5 separate regions of the Homo sapiens genome follow, and all the other regions are linked to region 1. The links are contacts of gene promoters, found by promoter capture Hi-C in blood cells and fetal thymus (Javierre and others, 2016). All regions are on one chromosome and are shown on one strand. Each heading gives the region's core, a stretch centred on a gene start or on the middle of the fragment in contact. The rest is flanking DNA. Distances are from core to core; before and after follow the strand shown.

Evidence for each region. Contacts are between HindIII fragments. The CHiCAGO score rates a contact against its expected background, and 5 or more counts as called.
Region 2: a fragment that was not itself captured here is called in contact with the fragment with the promoter of NLE1 in region 1 in 3 of 17 cell types (naive CD4 T cells, activated CD4 T cells and total CD8 T cells); the score reaches 5.6 in naive CD4 T cells.
Region 3: a contact is called between a fragment that was not itself captured here and the fragment with the promoter of NLE1 in region 1, in 1 of 17 cell types (M2 macrophages). The highest score is 5.9, in M2 macrophages.
Region 4: a fragment that was not itself captured here is called in contact with the fragment with the promoter of NLE1 in region 1 in 1 of 17 cell types (total B cells); the score reaches 5.2 in total B cells.
Region 5: a contact is called between a fragment that was not itself captured here and the fragment with the promoter of NLE1 in region 1, in 1 of 17 cell types (neutrophils). The highest score is 6.5, in neutrophils.

The regions. Positions count from the first base shown.
Region 1 is chr17:35,140,854-35,143,553 of GRCh38, reverse strand. It overlaps NLE1 (notchless homolog 1), which reads left to right and starts at 1,251. Exons shown (of 13, transcript NM_018096.5): 1 at 1,251-1,296; 2 at 1,432-1,575. The coding sequence starts at 1,279. RefSeq lists an enhancer at 943-1,820. The HindIII fragment of the contact is 3,765 bases long and covers 1-2,700 here.
Region 2 is chr17:35,667,080-35,669,779 of GRCh38, reverse strand. All of the region lies in intron 14 of AP2B1 (adaptor related protein complex 2 subunit beta 1), which reads right to left. Among named protein-coding and RNA genes, the nearest start is that of RASL10B, 63 kb to the left of the region's middle. The HindIII fragment of the contact is 186 bases long and covers 1,216-1,401 here.
Region 3 is chr17:34,448,581-34,451,280 of GRCh38, reverse strand. No RefSeq gene overlaps it. Among named protein-coding and RNA genes, the nearest start is that of CCL1, 87 kb to the right of the region's middle. The HindIII fragment of the contact is 2,043 bases long and covers 341-2,383 here.
Region 4 is chr17:34,397,698-34,400,397 of GRCh38, reverse strand. No RefSeq gene overlaps it. Among named protein-coding and RNA genes, the nearest start is that of CCL1, 36 kb to the right of the region's middle. The HindIII fragment of the contact is 2,249 bases long and covers 141-2,389 here.
Region 5 is chr17:34,527,341-34,530,040 of GRCh38, reverse strand. No RefSeq gene overlaps it. Among named protein-coding and RNA genes, the nearest start is that of TMEM132E-DT, 51 kb to the left of the region's middle. The HindIII fragment of the contact is 1,910 bases long and covers 406-2,315 here.

The sequences.
Region 1 (2,700 bases), core at 2-2,501:
GACCAGAGTGAGGCAGTGGAGATGGGGAGAGCAGATTCAAGCTGTGTTCATGAGGATGACTTGGCAGAGCTTGAGACTGCCTGAGCAGTGGAGGGAGAGAGAGGAGAGTTGGCAAGGGAGATCCTTCGTTTCAGGCAAAAGAGCTCAAGTTCATTGCTGTCTGCTTCAGTTCCTCAGTAATATGGGGAGAAAAGGGTTGTAAGAATTAAATGAGTTATGTGGGAAAGCACTTAGAACAATTCCTGACTTGTTGATGTCATTATCACTATTATTGCTTTACAGCATTGATGATTGTAGAAATGATTTGCTTTTGTACTCGAGTATTATTGAGTTGATCCATTTTATTTATTTATTTATTTATTTATTTATTTATTTATTTATTTATTTATTGAGACAGAGTCTTGCTCTGTCATCCAGGCTGGAGTGCAGTGGTGAGAGCTCGGCTCACTGCAACCTCTGCCTCCCAGGTTCAAGAGAATCTACCACCTCAGCCTCTCCAGTAGCTATGACCACAGGCGCATGCCACCACGGCTGGTTAATTTTTTTGTATTTTTAGTAGAGACCTGGTTTCACCATGTTGGCCAGGCTGGTCTCGAACTCCTGGACTCAAGTGATCTGCTCGCCTGGGCCTTCCAAAGCGCTGGGATTACAGGTGTCAGCCACCACGCCCAGCCTTGACTTGATCCATTTTTAAAAGGATACTAATTTCTAGGCTAGGCGTGGTGGCTCACACCTGTAATCCCAGCACTTTGGGACACTGAGGCTGGGGAGTGGGGGACTTGCTGCTTGAGTTCAGGAGTTTGAGACCAGCCTGGGCAACATAGTGAGACCTCGTCTCTACAAAAAATGAGAAAAAAATAACCGGGCAGGGTGTCATGTGCCTGTAGTCCAGGCTACTCTGAGGCTGAGGTGGGAGGATCGCTGTGCCAGAAAGTTCGAGACTGCAGTGAGCCGTGGTGGCACCACTGCCCTCCAGTCTGGGCGACGGAGTGAAACTCTGTCTCAAAATGAAATTAAATTAAAATGGGGCAAGAATCCCTGTTGTGAAGAGTCAAAAGTTTACTGTGTCCTCTAAGACCCTGGCGAAAAATAAATGTGAAGGCTGTTGAGGGGCGGGAGGAGCACCAGGTAAGCCCATTTCTAATCCCTGAGGCCGTGCGCAGCGGGACGCTTCTCCTCCCCAACAGCAGAGGGCGATGTGGCCGGCGGCGACCCCGCCCGACCACGGAGACGGCGCTCTGTCTGCCGGGCTCTTTCTCCTCCACGTGGGGACGCAGGATGGCGGCAGCAGTGCCGGTGGGTGTGCGTGGATGGGGGCGGGGGGCGTCGCCGCGGGGCGCTAGGGCCCGGGTCCCTGAGGCCTGAGAGAGGCGAAGTGGGGCCCTTCTGGGCGGGCGACCAGACTGACTCCCGCCCCACTTGCTCGCGCAGGACGAGGCGGTGGCGCGCGATGTGCAGCGGTTGCTAGTGCAGTTCCAGGATGAGGGCGGGCAGCTGCTGGGTTCCCCGTTCGACGTGCCCGTGGACATCACCCCGGACAGGCTGCAGCTCGTGTGCAACGCGCTACTGGCCCAGGTAAGTGGCTGGCCAGGGCGGCCTCGCATCTCCACCCCCGGGCGGATGCGGTGGGGGAATCATATTACCGAGGGTCTGCGGTTCATGGTCCCCCGCTAACGGACTGTGGTGACCCACCTGGCGTGAGCTCCCACCTATGTCAGAGATGGAATCAGTGGCATAGCGCTTTACACGCCAACCAAAGGGGTCCACCTGCGGAGAGGGGCCTAGCTTTGAACGCACCGGATGCTGTATTTCATTGATTCTTTGTCACAGTCCCCCAGTCTGGGACACGTTAATATCCCCATTTTACAGCGTGGCCCGGAGGGACTCAGTATTTTGCACGATGCTATGTAGTAGGTAGCAGATTTGGAATTGGAACCCAAAACTATCCGAATACCCATGCTTTTATTTATTTATTTATTTACCTTTTTTTTTTTTTTTTTTGAGACGGAGTCTCACTTTGTCGCCAGGCTGGCAAGCTGGAGTGTAGTGGCGTGATCTCTGCTCACTGCAATCTCTGCCTCCCAGGTTCAAGCGATTCTCCTGCCTCAGCCTCCCGAGTAGCTGGGACTACAGGCGCGCGCCACCACACCCAGCTAATTTTTGTATTTTTAGTGGGGACTGGGTTTCACCACGTTGGCCAGGATGGTCTCGATCTCTTGACCTCGTGATCCTCCCGCCTTGGCCTCCAAAGTGCTGGGGATTACTGGCGTGAGCCACCGCACCCGGCCTTTGCTTTTAACCTTTAAGCCAGTGTGTTTACTGAAGAGCTGCCCTGGGGACAGGGGAGGTCCTTAAAATTGCAGTTCCTGGACCCCATCCCAGCCTTACTAAACCAAACTCTGGGATGAAGCAGAAAGTCTACATTTTTTAACAGGCGTTTTGGGAGCTTTTTACACAAATATAGTGTAGTGTGGTAGTTTGGGAAACACTGCATAATGCTATATGCTAATCCTATCTTGGACGTAAAGAACCTGAATTAATCATTGGCAATAGGACATTGAACTAATTACTTAGTTGTTCTGAGCCTCTGCTTTTGAAAACTGTCAGTGGGAATATTAGTATCTACTTCCCACGGTTGTTATGAGATGCAGATAAAGAATTTCAGGCCGGGTGCAGTGGCTTATGCCTGTAATCCCAGTA
Region 2 (2,700 bases), core at 59-2,558, 530 kb before region 1:
TTGAGCTGTAAAAATTATTTTGCATCTTTAAGATTGGGGAAAGAGGATTTATCTTCTCAATGAACAGAGAGTAGTACATAAAATGGCATTCTCAAAAATCTAAAAATTAATCTTAAATATTGAAAAATAGTGACGACTACAACAAAGTTCTGTTTAAACCATGAAAGAAAATAACCCTGGTAGGTGCTTCATAACTGGCATTAGCAAGCATGCTCTGTTGTAAACTATAAGCATTCCAAACCAGAGCTAACATTTCCAGAATCTGATTCCTGAAGACTACTTAATGGTTGCACAGGGGATGAAAATCACATACTTAAATAAATAAAAAGATCATCCTTGGCTGGGCGTGGTGGCTCATGCCTGTAATCCCAGCACTTTGGGAGGCCAAGGTGAGCGGATCATGAGGTCAGGAGTTTGAGACCACCCTGGCCAACATGGTGAAATCCTGTCTCTACTAAAAATACAAAAATTAGCAGGCTGTGGTGGCAGGCGCCTGTAATCCCAGCTACTCGGGAGACTGAGGCAGGAGCATCCCTTGAACCCAAGAGACGGAGGTTGCGGTGAGCTGAGATCATGCCATTGCACTTCATCCTCGGCAACAAGAGCAAGACTCCATCTCGGAAAAAAAAAAAAAAAAGGCATCCCCAAACCAAGAATTTGAGTAACTAGAAAAGTGTGAAGGGAATAGAAAAGATACTACACATCTGCTTTCTCCCTAGTTCTATCATAGCACACATCTGCAGCATGACGTCTGAAATTCCTTTTATTCAAACAAACATTTACATAACATTTACTGGATGCAAGGCATTACAAGGGATATAAAGATGCCTGGCAATGAGGGGACTACATAGATAAGAATGAAGCTTTGCAAACTAGCTGGAGAAATAAAACACAAATGCAAAACCATACAGAATATACTAAAGCAAAAAAGCGAAGTTCTGAAGGGAAGAACCTCCCTCTGGCTGAAAGAATGAAGAGAAACTTCAAAAAGGTGGTAGGGTGGAATTATAAAAAGCAAAAATGGGGGAAGGCCATTTCTCAAATAGCATGAACAAAGGTGAAGAAAGCATGGAAGAATGAAAAGGCCAGTTAGACTGGAACACAGGGTTGATATGTGTTTTAAAAAAATACTCATACAAAATAAGTTTGCAAAGGCTGTCTTTTAATTTTTTAATTTCCCCTTCATAAAAACCTGGAGGTTTCTTAGACTAAGCTTTCTAAGAATACTAATAACTATGTCAATTATGTTTCAGTAGTATGGTTTCAACCTTGGATACACAATGGAATCAACCATCTGTGTGTGGGGGTTGCAGAGAGTAGCGCTTTAAAAAGTACTCGCCCCCAGAGATGGTAATTTAATTGTTCTGGGGTGTAGCCTGGGCATCAGAATTTTGAAAAGCTTCCCCAGTTGATTCTAATGTACAGCCAAGGTTGAAAACACTGCCGTTAGAGAATCAGTTATTTAGAGTCAGACAAGACTTCATCTGCTCAGAAATGACTTTGGAACTTGTGAATAAAAAGGAAGTCAGGATTTGAGCAGAGAGGCCGGGCGTGGTGGCTCACACCTGTAATCCCAGCACTTTGGGAAGCCGAGGCCGGTTGATCACCTGAGGTCAGGAGTTCAAGACCAGCCTGACCAATATGGTGAAACCCGTCTCTACTAAAAATACAAAAATTAGCTGGGCCTGGTGACGGGAACCTGTAGTCCCAGCTACTCAGAAGGCTGATACAGGAGAATTGCTTAAACCTGGGAGGCAGAGGTTGCAGTGAGCCGAGATCATGCCATTGCACTACAGCCTGGGCAACAGACCAAGACTCCGTCTCAAAAAAAAAAAAAAAAAAAAAATTTGAGCAGCGAGGAAAACCCATGGAAAGGATCCTACGAAAAATGTTTCATTTGTCCTGATACTCTGAGGTGGTTTTCGACTTTCTGATGGGCTTACCCCCTCTCACCGCAACTTATTCTCCCCTCTTCTGGCTAGGCTTATAATCCAAGATTCAAAGAGATAGAATTCTTTATGAACCTGCTTGGCACAGAACAGCAAGAAAGAAAAACACATTGGAAAGGAAACAGCAGTTTTGCTAAATTCAATAAAAGGCATTGAGAAAAGAGATTCATGGGTAGTGTTTAGACCAAAGGAAAGAAAGCACATTCATAGCCCTTATTTTCTTAGATTTCATTCTTTTTATCGTTGAATGATATATGAATATTATCTTAGCTGGAAAGGATCTGAAAGTACTGTCCCCCAGTGCTTGTCAATTTTATTCAAAATCATGAAGAACTGAAAAGCAATCTTGACATTCCTCTGTTTATGTTCAGTATATCAGATACAACTCAGCTAGAAACATGAACTCTGATCTGACACAAAGACAGGGTCCAAAAGATATCAGAGACACAGCCAGGGATACAAAGGTTCACCTAATTGTACTATGTTCAGAGAGCAAAGGGAAAGGACAATTTCAATACTATACATGTTTTCTAACTAGCAAGACTACAGCTTATGCGGACTATTCAGCAACTTCCCTCTTAACTGAAAAATATTCTAATGGAGATTATCCTACTCTCTGAAACCATGGCAAGGTGACAGCATGATGATGGGTGTGAGTGACTAATAGGGAGATGTCAGCAGGAATGGAAGCGAATTACCCAGTGAGTGGCCTCTCCTATCTACAAGTGATAAACAGGAGGAAGGAGATACT
Region 3 (2,700 bases), core at 113-2,612, 690 kb after region 1:
ACAGAGAGTGGGGGTCTTCATGCATTTACATCACCTTCTTATGGCTGAGATCTAGTTAAATTGAATGTATATTCTGTGAGTTTGATAATGTGCCCAGTGTTGTGCATGGTATTGTGGAAGGCAGAGAAAGATGATACCTGCTTTTCAGAAGTGCCCACCTGAAAATAAGCAGAGAAGGAGCAGGAACAAGGCTAGCAGGGTGGGCTCATGGTCTACTGTGTGTTCTTGGCAAGACCTACCTTGAGGCTTAAGGGTTGGGAGAATGTCACTATAGGTTGGGGGCAAGCAAAAATGCTTTGTAGAAGAGGTGGGATGTCACCTGTTCTGTAAAGGCTAAGCTTAGGAGAGGAAGGGAGAAGACCATTCCAGGACACAGTTGGTGCTTGACAAATATTTATTAAATGGAAGCATGAATATACAATTATTTTCTTCCTGGATATTTTAAAGTATCTGTCTTTTTAAGTGATTGTTTAAAATATTAAAAACAGACTATTTTAACACTATCTGTAATAGCACCAAACTGGAAACTACCCAAATGTCCATCAATAGTAGAATGGATAAGCAAATCATAATATAATTATACAATAGAATAATATCTAGCAATTAGAATGGCCACTCTACAATGACACACAACCTTATGGAAGCATGATGTTGTACAAAAGGAGGTATACACAAAGGAGGAGCAGTTATAAGATTTTGTTTCTATGAAGTGCAAAAAGAGACAGAGCTAATCTATGGTGCTTGAGATCAGTATGGTGGATTTAGGCAGTAGTGATGGGAAGGGAGTCCAAGGGCAGCTTCGGGAAGGCTCTATTTCTTGATCTACATATTATGTACACATTGGTTCAGTTTTTGAAAAATGTATGGGCTGTGCACTTATGATAAGTTCATTTTTCTGTATGTTGTATTTCAATAAAAAGTAAACCAACAAACAAAAACAGGCTATGTTCTCAGCTTGACTTCCTAGACCCCATGTTCTCTTGCCTTCTCTCATCGATACCAGATGGCATGACCTGTGAAGATATTTTTTAAAGAATGGCAGGCTTTGCTCAAGGAGTAGCCTCTCCTAAGACCAGAAGAGAAAAGGCAGATAATCTTTTCCCCCATTTTAATGATTGGGAAACTGAGGCTTGTAGATATGAAATAAAGCCCTTTTTTCATATAGTGAGTCACTGTAAGAAAGAACTTTTGTCTTCTGGGAGCCTCCATCCTGTGGCCCAGCTAATAGGTACCTGTTCAGCCAGATGCACCTCAAGAGACAAAGACTGTTACAGGAAGTCAGAGTGATGGGTGGGAATACCTGGAGGTGTTCAGTGGGCTTTGCTATCCCCCACTTTCATGGTCATGTCCACATAAAGTAGCACCTGGAGGGTTCTCAGCCTGCCATCTGCTTTTGTGAGATTTGAGTGAGTCAGTTATTGTCCCTGGACCTGTGGCCCCAACTATAAAATTAGGGATTGAACTCAATAACAATAAGGCATAAGTTTCCTCCCAGTTCTAATATTTCAGGTATAAATCTGAACCAGTGCCATCCATATTAGATTAGGCAGAGTCTCTGCTATTCTGTACCCTTAGAGGGCTGTGCGGGGTCAGGATTAAAGAAATAAATCTGAAATCTGTATGATATTTTAAAGCATTTCTTCATTCATTTGTTCACTCATTCACTCCAGAACCCTTCATTGAGCATCTGCTGTATGCTAGGTCCTTAAATAACTTACATTCTGGGGAGACAGACACAGTAATTAGTTGTAAAAGTGTATCAGTGTCATACATACAGTTACATATCAAATGCTGTGGACATACAGAAGACTTTATTGGTGCTTTGGGGGTGAGGTTAGGCCACAGAAGGCTTCCTAGAGGAGGCGATATTTGAGCTGGATCTGGAGGAAGGAAGAGATCAGACTGGGTAAATTGAGGTAGGAGTCAGTCACATCCTTGTTAGAGAGAAGAACGTATCTAGAGGCAGAGGAGCTGGAAAGGCATTTCTGTGGGTTCAAACCTGAACACGGAGAGTGAGTGGCAACAGCTGAGGCTGAAGCCTTGAACACCATGATTTTGTGTAGGGTGTAGGATTTGGCAGTGGGGGCCACATTCAGGATGAGTGTGAGACTAGAGTGAGGTGCAGGACCTGTGAGGGACCCTTCTCCTCGCTTTTCTACCACAGTTCGGTGAGACTTGGGTGCACATCCCCCGCCCTCTTAGATTGTCCAGTCAATAAGCTCTATAAGGAGCCAAAGCTAAAAAGCAAGATCAATGTAGTTGCCATCGATCCTGCCTCAGCGGCTGATTAGTACCAGGGACTTGGCTGATCCTGAGAGCTCATTGCTAATGCACCATGAAACTCAGATTAAACTAGTAGCGCCCAGCAGCCCTGGGGAAAGCTTCTGCCCTCTCCAGATGCATGGGGGTAGTGGAAGAGGTCCTGACCCCAACTTGCTGGAGCCTTTTGCTACCCAGATGAACAACGTAAGTCCCCTAAGCAACCAGCAGACATCTGATCATGGCATTTCTTTGCTTAACTCCTCTCCATGTACCCCATTGCCTCTGGGGTCTGTGCAAACTCCCTAATTGGGCAAACCTGCCCTCTGCAATCTGGCCCCTGACTGCCTCTTCCAGCCTCAAACATGTTGCCTTCCCCTTACCTTCTGAGTCAGTCCAGCAGAACTGCCTTCAGGGCCTCCAACTTTGCCATCACATTGC
Region 4 (2,700 bases), core at 16-2,515, 740 kb after region 1:
TGGAAATTCCTATAGGAAACTTGCTGTAAAGTTCTAGGCACATCGTAGGTCCTCTCTCCCATCAATCCTTTCTGGGTCTTTGATTGGAAACAGCTTCCCATTCCAGTGATGCTTATGAATCGCTTGTCCTTCTGCAAGCTTCTATGGGTGTGGATTTGTGTGTAGGTGACTTTGTGTATTTTTATATAGTTAGAATACATCAATATAAGACCATATATGTTTCAGATTAACTTCCTGCAAAAGAAAAATAAATTAGATTTGCATTGGTGTGAGTTTTTTAAAACATAAATGTACAACATAGTTCTATTCCTCAATATTTTGCATTTCTTTTGAAAGGACTATAACTTCAAGGAAAGTCTCAAAAAAGTTACCCCCATTCCCTGCATGTTAGCACACTTCCCTTGTAATTTTCTCTCTGTGTCTACACAGATAGCTGTATTTTTCCAGAACTGAATCATAGTCTACCCACTGTTTTGTGCTGTGTTTTTTGCATTTAACTGTTTCACAAGTATGTGTGTGAGTGTGTTTAATGCCTTATGTGTACAGATAAGTTTTGAGAGTTTCATAATATTCCGTTGCATTGGTGTTTAATTAGTTAAGGAAGCATTCCCTAATGTTTAATATTTTAGCCTTTGCTTTTGATTCCTTCTGGATAAGTTTAGATCTTGGAACAGAATCCTTTCTCTGGTAATACCTGTGTCCTTTCTGGGTGCTTAGAGAAATCTCTTTTCCAAAGCAGGACATACTCTCTCATTTTGAGCTCTCTGTTAAAAATTAGGATTTGATCTCAGAACTCACCCTGTTTCTTCCTTTCTAGACCATGTAGGTGGACTCTATTTAAGAAGCAAATGTGTAACAATTCCAATTGGTTGCTACTTAAACAAGAAGAGAGGAGATTTATTACATTTTACCAGAAAGGCTGAATGTTAAAGGCACAGGTACACAGCTGGAAATAATTAAAATAACAACCAATGTTTACTGAGTACCACATAACTATCAGGAGCTATTCTAAATTCATTGCATCCTCACAACAATCCAATGAGTTAGGTACAATTTTTAGCCCTGTTTTGCAGAAGAGGAAGTTGAGGTCAGAGAAGTTAAATGATTTGGTCAAGTTCATGCAGTTAGGAAGTGACTTAAATCTAGATGGTCTGACTCCAGAGCTTAGGTCTAGGTTAAAATCTGTCATGCTATTTGTAAATTGGGTCTCCTTTAAGAAGCCATGTGACTGCTCCGAGCCTCAGCTTCTGACTTGTGACGTGGTAGTGACAAGTCCTATCTCAAAGGACAGAGGTGAGATTAAGCAAGATGGTGTACAGAGAAGCCCACATGGTACTTGCCATGAGGTATTTGCTCAGGAACAGTTCCAGTCCCCTTTTCTCCCATTGTCACAGGGTTGGGATCCTGGTCCCCAACCCAGCCTGGCCTCTGGGCCCAGAAACATAACTATTTTCTATTGAAATGTTTGTGCTCCTCAATTGTCCTGTTGTTTTGACTTGTGAGCTCATTTTTCCCTGAGAGTATTGGTTACTCCTTTTGGCAGTGTTGGTGGTGAGATGCCAGATTCTATCTACTTCAATTCCAGTGAACTCAGGAAGTAGGGAGAGGTGAGCCTTAAGGTGCGGAACCCCTGGCATGAGAAAACACTTACCAAGACACCTCTCAGCTCAATCTTAACCCTTTGCCACCCATAGAGAGGATCCACTCTTTAGACAGTAATTTTACAGCCCCAGAAGTTCAGATAGGACGGGAGAGGAAGTAACGGCCCAAGTCAGTCACTCTGCCTGCTTTGCTCAGCCTCCCTTTAGCACAGGACTTCTGTACAGCTCTGATTTTACTCCTGACAATAATGAGGGCATAAGATTTAGTCTCCACAGGTTTTTCCCAAGGCTGTGACTGGGGAGAAGAAAGAACAGAATTCCTAATATTTCCCCCTCTCTTTTACACTTCTGCTGCTGTGCTGGGATACGTCCTGCCCAGGCCACACCATCACCTTCCGCCCTACCGTCCAATTCAAAATAGGACCACACCCCCATGGTTCCTCCTGGTTTTCAGTTTTCCCTTCCTTTGTGTTCCTCTGGAGTTGATCTTGGGGGGCAGGTTAAGCATCCGTGCTTGTTATGAATCTTGACTGGAAATGGAACCTGAAAAGCAACCTCTATTTTCCATCTCTTTAGCATCTCATGTAACACATTCTATGGGGACTCAACCTGTCAAAGACACTCAGTCATATGCACAAACGTGAACACCAGGCTACTTCTCCGGCATTGCCAGGGCTGGGGCAGAGGTGTGGCAGGAGGAACTGGTGATCCTGGTCTCTGTACTCGTTGGTCACAAACTCCTGCTGAGATCACCAGAGCTGCCTATGATTTCTGATCTTTCTGAAGCTTTGATTTCCAGGTTTCTTTTAGATACCACATGACGCCCCAGGATTCTTCTGATACCTTTCCTACTTTCTTAAGACACTCATTCATTCATTCACCACTTATTTATGGTGCATCGACTATTTGCTAAACACTGTGCTAAGTGAAAACTTGAATCGGCTTCTGTTTCTGTTACTCATAACCCAAAGTATCTTAGCTAAGACACCAGGTATTTTTATGTTTAGTTTACAGATATGAATGTGGGTACCAAGGGGGTACATGGAAGCCCAAACTAAGAGCCCTTAAGAAGTCAGGGTGGACCTAGGAAATACATCCT
Region 5 (2,700 bases), core at 111-2,610, 610 kb after region 1:
CAGGGAGATTTGAGTTATTCATCTAACTCTGGCTTCTCCTTGTTCTATAATGTTGGCCAAATGACTTTGATCTCCAGGCCAGGCTGACCACCCTTTCACCTTCAAACCAGAGAGAACAATGCCCAGAGCCTTCTCAAAAGCAGACAAGGAGAAGGATAGTAAGTACACAAGTCTGCAAGGTCCTTCAGAGCTAAGATGTCCTATTTTCAATGCAATAGAATCATTTAACTGATAAACACGGAGGCAATGTCAAGATGGCAATAAATTGCCTCGCTATCAGGCAAGGCCTTTGTGTAACGTTCAAAAGAAACTAATTAAAGAAATTTTTCTTTAAAGTATATTTGACCCAGACATTTCTACATCGGCCCAGGATGCCAATCCAGTTTGAAAACTTGGTGTAAAGCTTGCATTATTAATGCACACTTGAAAAATGATATTGCATATTTGCCTTAGAACATTTTGGGAATGGGGGAGGATTAAATGTATCTCTTGAGGATTTGATCAGGGAAGGAAGTGGAGGGTGGGGTGATGCCAGAGAAGGCCAGAGAAGGTGTGCATCCTTGTAAAACATCTATCATAAAACTTGGGTCTTTATCGGAACTCCAGCGTTCAGATGACTGAGACAAATTTTAAAGAGAATTTTTTCACATCTAATACATAAAACATGATCTCCACCATCTCTCTCTCTTTAAACAGCTTTGTTAAATAGTCAGTTGAACGACATCTCCCTTGCTGCCATGAATCCATTAGGGAATCATATTTACATAGGGGATTTTACTTGACAATCTCAAATCACTTGGAAAACATCAACCTTCTCGGCCTCTCAGCACCCTTTGGGGAGCTGTATGCATACTCCTGGTTTATTTCTCGCACCCTCGTGTGGTGACAGTGGCTCCCAGAAAAGTGGACTTGGCAGAACCAGTGCCCCAACTAGTGCTTTCCAGGATACCTCTCTCAGGGCTGCCCCCTGACTCCCACTTGCTGGATTGCTTGGACCCATGGAGATGGGCATGGGAATGGGGCTGGTGCAGCTCCTGCCATCCTCATCCTCATCACTCAAATGTACACTGAGCAGGCATGGAGACTCCAACAAGGAAAGAAGCTGGCATCTCAACAATGACGGCAACAGTAAGAGTAGCTCATGTGTATTGCTTAATATGTGACCGGCAGCATGTTAAACACTTGGTGTGGGGTTGCCCAGTAAATCCTGGTGAGCCTGCGAGGTGCTTCTAGTGTTACCTTTACAGCATCGATGAAGAAGTTGAGGCCTAGAGAGCTGAAATGATGGGCTCAATTCCCACTCTTAGGAAGACAGTCTCAAGCCCTCATTTGTCTGTTTCAGTTCACACTCATCTACACTATCATGATAGACCAAAGGGCATTATATGTACAGAAGGAGTTTCAGGAAGGGAGAAAATGGAACTTGAAGCGCTTTGTCATATATGTATTCAATGTGTGCATTCAGCAAATGCCTCCAGCTTTGGCTCCCTTCCATTCCATCCTAAAAGGCTGAGATAATTTTCTTCTTTTCACTTAAAATAGCCTCTATCTAGATATGTGAAGCAGCTAGCACGGTGGCTTGCACACAGTATATGGTCAATGACGTGACTTCCCTTTTCCATTTGTAGTCCATGCACACATGCTGACACTCCCTAATTCCATGAATCGATATATTTCTTAAAACGATGCTCAGAGGAGGATTCTGAGAACACAGATGGGACAGGACTATGGCCGTGGTCACTTTAAACGTGGTTTGCCACGTCAGCAGAAGCCATTGAAAGCAGAGGTAAGGTTTCAAGGAAGGAGAGGGGCCTGTGAGGCAGGTGGAAATGGACAGAGTGGTGGATGGGCAGCAGAGTCGAGCAAGGTGAGGACGGATTTGATATTCTGCTGTGTGAAAGCAGGCAGGGCTGATGCTGAGGAAGAAAATCACCGATAGCCTAAGGGCCATCCTGTGTAGCTGTGCAGGTTGTGCACTGCAGAACTTTAGGGGGCGCTGTTCTTACCACCCGGGGAAGGGAGGCCCTAAGCGGACCCTGCACAGTCAGCAGGGGCCTAGGGAAGGACCTTGCCTGCAACATTTACTGAGTACTCATAAGAGTGGAAGCATGTGTGGTGGGGAAAGGGTTTTTAAGTTGGGCCTTTTAGTTAGAATTTTGACAGATGGAAAACAGGGAGGGGCAAAGCCCAGGTGGCTGACTCCTATTCGTCCTTTAAGGCTGAACTCATGCCTCCCCTGTGCTGGGACCCGTTCTGTGGCAGCAGCTGCGCCGCCCTTTTCCTCCTACAGCACCGGACCTACCTCACCCTAAGCTTCACCACCCCTCCCTGAAAGGGTTCATTCCCAAGTTCGTGGAGTCTCATGGTCCCCCTCCCAACCCCCCCGAAACCCACCATCCCGCCTCCACTACCCTGTAAGCTCCTAGAAAGCAGGAACTATGTTTTTCACTCCAGTAGGCAGGGATTAGCAGTGGTGCTAGCACATAGTAGGTCCTGGCACGCAGTAGGAGTTGAATGAACCAAGTAACCAATGTATAAGTACAGGAAGCTGGTGTGGGGGCCAGTCATGCGGGCAGGATGGCCAGTGTACAGCCAGGAGATGCCAAGGTCCCCAGAAGGGGCAGTGGACCGGGATGAGAACAGGCAGAGCTCAGGGACCTCCCGGCTGTGGGCAGCAGGGAGGGTGGAGAGAAACCCAAG